2 separate regions of the Homo sapiens genome follow, and region 1 is linked to region 2. The links are contacts of gene promoters, found by promoter capture Hi-C in human tissues and cell types (Jung and others, 2019). All regions are on one chromosome and are shown on one strand. Each heading gives the region's core, a stretch centred on a gene start or on the middle of the fragment in contact. The rest is flanking DNA. Distances are from core to core; before and after follow the strand shown. Region 1 has its middle 35 kb from the start of LINC03066. Region 2 holds the start of HUS1B (HUS1 checkpoint clamp component B).

Region 1 (2,989 bases), core at 94-2,593, 420 kb after region 2:
CCAAGGTGGATTATTCTAGCTGGGCGGTAGCTTGAGTGTGTGCAACAGTGGGGGCACTGTGAGGCTATTTGGAGGGAGTGGCGGTCACCAGAGAGAAGTTTCAGTGCAGCTGTGCACATGTCGACCAGAGCAGAGGGAGTGCTGTGCAGAGAGAGAAAAGTTAGCTGAGAAGGAGGAAAACTGATCTTGCTAATGACTGTGCCCTTAACCCGTGGCTTGTCTCCAATTTCAGAAGCAACAAATCCAAGAGTTTGTGCAGACAAGAAATGCTGCAGACTAGTCTCCCATGAAAAGGTGGGAGGTGAGGGAGGGATGAGAGGATGCTCTCTTTTATATATGTGATCTCTGCCCATCCTCACAGTAGCCCTGGGCAATCCTTATTCTAGAGAGAAGGAAACAGAGGTTCTGGGAACTCAGGATGCCACGAAGAGGCAGGATGTGCCCGCAGCTCATCTGGTTCTGATGCAAGCCGACTTTGCCCTCTGGCACAGGAAGCACAGGGTGCCTGGGACCCAGGCTGCATTCGGAAGCCTCAGAAATGCTTAATCTTGGCCGGGTGCAGTGGCTCAAGCCTGTAAATCTCAGCACTTTGAGAGGCCAAGGCGGGCGGATCACCTGAGGTCGGGAGTTAGAGACCAGCCTGACCAACATGGAGAAACCCCGACTCTATTAAAAATACAAAATTAGCCGGGCGCGGTGGTACACGCTTGTAATCCCAGCTACTCAGGAGGCTGAGGCAGGAGAATCGCTTGAACCTGGGAGGCAGAGGTTGCAGTGAGCTGAGATCGCACCACTGCACTCCAGCCTGGGCAACAAGAGCGAAACTCCGTCCCAAAAAAGAAAAAAAAAAAAAAAAGCTTAATCTTTATTCCTTTTAAAATCAGAAGAAAAATATACATAATAATCATGAATATATAATAATGAATCCCATCTCAATTACATCTGTCATTTTATCAGCGCAGCAGTAAAATACTTTTAAATATTTTTTATAGAGGAAGTTGCCCACAGGAGCGATGGTACCTCGGCTGCATCTCAGAGGTTCCGCCTGCCTATTCTGGAGCGCATGCCCTGGACCTGGTACCAGCCCCAGGTTTCCAGGAGTGGGAAACTGCTCGTCTACTCTACTCAGGTCATATTGATTTTCCTTGATTCCCTGCTCTGGAAAACACAGCTCCTGGAACTTGGTCCAAGAATAGGAATAGTTGGTCTGTCTTTAATGTTACTATTTTTTAACTCCTAGTCAAGTGCCACAGGGAAACAAGAAAAATGGGGCTATGGGATTGACTAAGGGAGTTTAACAAATGGCCTTTAAAATGACAAAGTGAGCTGGGCTCTGGAATGACAACAGTGGTAAGTTGGGAAGGCATCCCGCTGAGGCTCCTTGGCTCCCCAGCACCTGCCTGCTCCCTGGCTCAGTCTGCCTCACTCTCTGCTCTGGGCAAGGGTACCAGCCGAGCACCTCAAGAGCCTAGACCACGTGGAGGCTACATAGAGGTCCCAGGGAGAGGACATTATGTCACTCTTCTGAGATGTGAGCTCAAGAGGATGTTGGAGGCCAGAAGTTCTTGACTGGAGAGGAGGAGACTTAGATTCCTGCCTTGGCTCCCACACTAACTAGTTGTTTAATCCTTCAGTCCAGGCCAATTCATTTCTCTAAGCTTCCGTTTTCTCATCATAAAATGAGAGAGTGGATCATTCCAGCTCTAAGGTTATATGATTCTCAGGAGAAAAATGTGAAAGACAGCAACAGGTTAAAAAATATTTAAATGAGTTCGACGTTTGCCCCAATTTACCAATTGCCAACCACGTCTTCTCCCAAGGATGGCCCTATCAATCAACCCAATTCCAAAAACTGTCATGAGATTTTCCATGAAACTCTGTGTAACTGGGAGAGAATAAAGCACGTGCTAAACACGAATGCAGTGAAAATGGCGTGAGGCCAGGGAGGAACTGGGAAAGTCCAGTGGAATTCCCTGAGGATATGGGCAGGTGCCCGCCAGCGTTGCTGGAAGGGCTGTTTCTGAGGATAGAGGGTTAGTGAGCTGTAGCAGTTTCCAAGGCCAGGAGAGGGAGATTTTATTCAGCAGAAATAAAAGTGCTGGGAGGTGTACAATGACTTTCTTAACTTCATGGAAAGTACCATGGGAGTTCTATGACAGAAGCCAGGCTGTGGCCCTCGTCAAGGGTGGACTCAGAAGGAGGGAAACGATCGATGGCATTGTCAACAGCGTTCATTCTGAAGGCCCTTCATTTAAATTCTGGTAGCCATCAGCTCCTGACACCCAGTGATAACAATACCCTGCACTGGCCCATTGTCTGATTTTGATCTTTCAACAATCCCGAGGCAACTCTGAGATCTTGTAATTTTTGTCCCTCTGGAAGATGAGGGCCCACGTCCCACAGTGGTCAAAGATACACCTATAACCTCGTTCTCCAGCACTAGACCAGCAAGCCGAGTGAGGCGGTTACTTCTCTTCGTAGTTCCACAGTAAGGAGCTATTTCAACTTCATCTAATGAACTGCAGTCTTAGGGATGGACAAAAACCAGCCCTAGAATGACTAACAGGGCTGTGCCTCTGGTGCGTCTTCACTGCCACTCACAGTGGTAACTGCAGCGTATGGACAAGCATCTGCCTCTGACTGAGGAGACATTTATTCATAAAATAAGAGTGTGCCTTTGTGTCTTTTCTTTTCTTTTTTTTTGAGACAGAGTCTAACTCTGTCTCCCAGTGACACGATCTCAGCTCACTGCAACCTCCGCCTCCTGGGTTCAAGCAATTCTCCTGCCTCAGCCTCCCAAGTAGCCGGGACTATAGGTGCACACCACTACGCCAGGCTAATTTTTTTGTATTTTTAGTAGAGATGGGGTTTCACCATGTTGGCCAGGCTGGTCTTGAACTCCCAATCTCAAATGATCCGCCTGCCTCGGCTTCCCCAAGTGCTGGGTATCTTTCCATTTAATAAGTTCTAATGTTTGATAACAGAGCAG
Region 2 (2,762 bases), core at 198-2,697:
AATACTGTTCTAAATGCTGGGTGTACAGCAGTGTATGGAACAGATAAGAACTCCTCTAACTTACATCATTGTGGTTAGAGCTAGACGGCAAACAAAGAAGTCTAAGTATGTACTATATCAGGCTGGTGATAATTCCCATCAGAATTCCAGGAAGATTATTTTTAGACTCTGACAAAATATTTTAGAATTCATCTGGAGCAGTATCTGTGAGAGAATGAGAGAAGTTCTGAAAGATTGTCCTATTCGATATTGAAATATAATACAGAAATTAAATCACTGGTACAGGTTCAAGATAGGGCAGTGGGAGAAAATATAGAGAGGGCCAGGAAACATTCAAGCAAAAATGAGAATTTTTGTCTAAAACAAAATTGACATTTCAGGTTAGTGGAGAAGTGGATTGTTTAGTGAATTATGTGTATCAGCTAGGCATTCGGTACTCCAAAAAAGATTTCAACTGAGTCAAACAACTAAGTCATAAAAACAGATAACATTAAAGTACCAGAAACAGGACTTTGAAAGCATGACCCTAGAAGTAGTAGAGAAAAGGTCAATAGGTTTGACATGAAAATACTCAGTATTTCCCAAGGGCAAAGAATACCAAAAACAGTGTGAAAAGTCACATGATAAACTGGGGAAGATATTTACAGTACATGTAATGGACAGAGGGTTAATGTTCTTGCTAGATATCTTAAAATCAAGAAAAATAAACTCAGTAAAAAGATGCAAAGGGCATAAGATGGAATTCACACACAGTGCAAGTTGAATTTTTTTTTTTTTTTTTTGCCTGCCAGAGTGCTACAGGTAAAACAGATTGCTACTACCCAGTGTTGCTGGTGGGCTAGAGTGTTCATGTAGCTTTCTGCAGGCCAGTCTGAGAATATTTATTAGGATTTTAAAAGTGCATTCATTGACCAGCACTTCACTTCTGAATTTAATGCAAGGAAATAGTTGGGTAAATGGGCAAAACTATTTTGTACAAAAATATTCATTGTGTTCATAATAGCAAAAAATTGGAAATCATCCAAATGTCATTTGTGTTATAACTCCATACACTGGAAAAGTGAGCAGCCATGAAGATGGTGTAGATTTGTTTCACCAGCATGGAAAGGTGCCTGTTACATATTTAAGTGTGAAGATGAGGTTGTAAAATGTATGCCTGGTATGCTATGATTTCATAAGACACGTGGAACTATATCTTCTTATATGCCGATTGATGAAGATGGAATCAGTGTATATACCAAAGAGATTAAAAGTGGTTCTTTATCTGAGTGATGATTTTGTCTTCATTGTGTTTAGAATACTAAGAAGTTTCAGCAGTGGAATGCCTACTCTTCTTATAACCGGAGTGGAAACGGAAGCATTTTGTGAGAGGGCTGGAGGGAAGGTGAGAACGGGCGTTGGGAGGCCCTTCCGTGGCTCCAGGCCTAGGGCTGCGGAACCCACAACAGAACCCGCAACCGCAACCGGGAACCCGAGTGCCTGCCTAGCTGGGGGGCCGGAGGGAGGGCGGGGAGGGCAGCGCCACGGACCCCAGCGGACCGGAAGGGCTTGTGGCACGCGGAATCCCCCTCAGAGGCCCCCAGCTGCCTTCCCTGTGGCATCATGAAGTTTCGCGCCAAGATCACCGGCAAAGGCTGTCTAGAGCTGTTCATTCACGTCAGCGGCACCGTCGCGAGGCTAGCGAAGGTCTGCGTGCTCCGCGTGCGCCCTGACAGCCTGTGCTTCGGCCCCGCGGGTTCCGGCGGCCTCCACGAGGCCAGGCTGTGGTGCGAGGTGCGGCAGGGGGCCTTCCAGCAGTTTCGCATGGAAGGTGTCTCGGAAGATCTCGATGAGATCCACCTGGAGCTGACGGCGGAGCACCTGTCCCGGGCGGCGAGAAGCGCAGCGGGCGCGTCCTCCCTGAAGCTGCAGCTGACCCACAAGCGCCGCCCCTCCCTCACGGTGGCGGTGGAGCTGGTCTCGTCCCTGGGCCGCGCTCGCAGCGTGGTGCACGATCTGCCCGTGCGGGTGCTTCCCAGGAGAGTGTGGCGGGACTGCCTGCCGCCCAGCCTGCGCGCCTCCGACGCGAGCATCCGCCTGCCGCGCTGGAGGACGCTGAGGAGCATCGTGGAGAGGATGGCGAACGTGGGCAGTCACGTGCTGGTGGAAGCAAACCTCAGTGGCAGGATGACCCTGAGTATAGAGACGGAGGTGGTGTCCATTCAAAGTTATTTTAAAAATCTTGGAAACCCTCCCCAGTCGGCTGTGGGTGTGCCTGAAAACAGAGACCTGGAGAGCATGGTGCAAGTGCGGGTGGACAATCGGAAGCTTCTGCAGTTTTTGGAGGGACAGCAAATACATCCTACGACGGCCCTGTGCAATATTTGGGACAATACTCTTCTTCAGCTTGTTTTGGTTCAAGAAGATGTCTCTCTTCAGTATTTCATTCCTGCCTTGTAAAAATTCAGCCAGCTTAGATTTTTTTTTTAAGGTTTTGATCTTTTCAAAACTAAAACAGACCCTGAGTTAATTGGGTTGAAAATTTGGACCTTCACTGACTTATGCAGGGCGTATATTTTGTTGAGCCCTTCCTCCTTTGCAAAATTTATATTAAAGCATTGGTAAAACAGTTGGGTAGTTCATGTTTTGTTTATTGGGTTTGTCAGGTTTTTTTCCTGCTTAAGATTCTATCAAAGTTATTCTTCAACTCTTTTTTTCGGGGGGGAAAAACAGGGTTGTAATGAAATAAGTATTTTTGAATCCTGAAACAATTGCATCAGTAT

What was found. Contacts are between HindIII fragments. The study calls those that stand out against the background at their distance.
Region 1: a fragment that was not itself captured here is called in contact with the fragment with the promoter of HUS1B in region 2 in 1 of the 25 tissues and cell types used here (lymphoblastoid cells).

The regions. Positions count from the first base shown.
Region 1 is chr6:238,769-241,757 of GRCh38, reverse strand. No RefSeq gene overlaps it. Among named protein-coding and RNA genes, the nearest start is that of LINC03066, 35 kb to the right of the region's middle. The HindIII fragment of the contact is 4,073 bases long and covers 1-2,989 here.
Region 2 is chr6:655,785-658,546 of GRCh38, reverse strand. HUS1B (HUS1 checkpoint clamp component B) reads left to right here and starts at 1,447. Exons shown (of 1, transcript NM_148959.4): 1 at 1,447-2,608. The coding sequence starts at 1,603. The coding sequence ends at 2,439. The region is part of intron 1 of EXOC2 (exocyst complex component 2); the gene reads left to right. The HindIII fragment of the contact is 15,216 bases long and covers 1-2,762 here.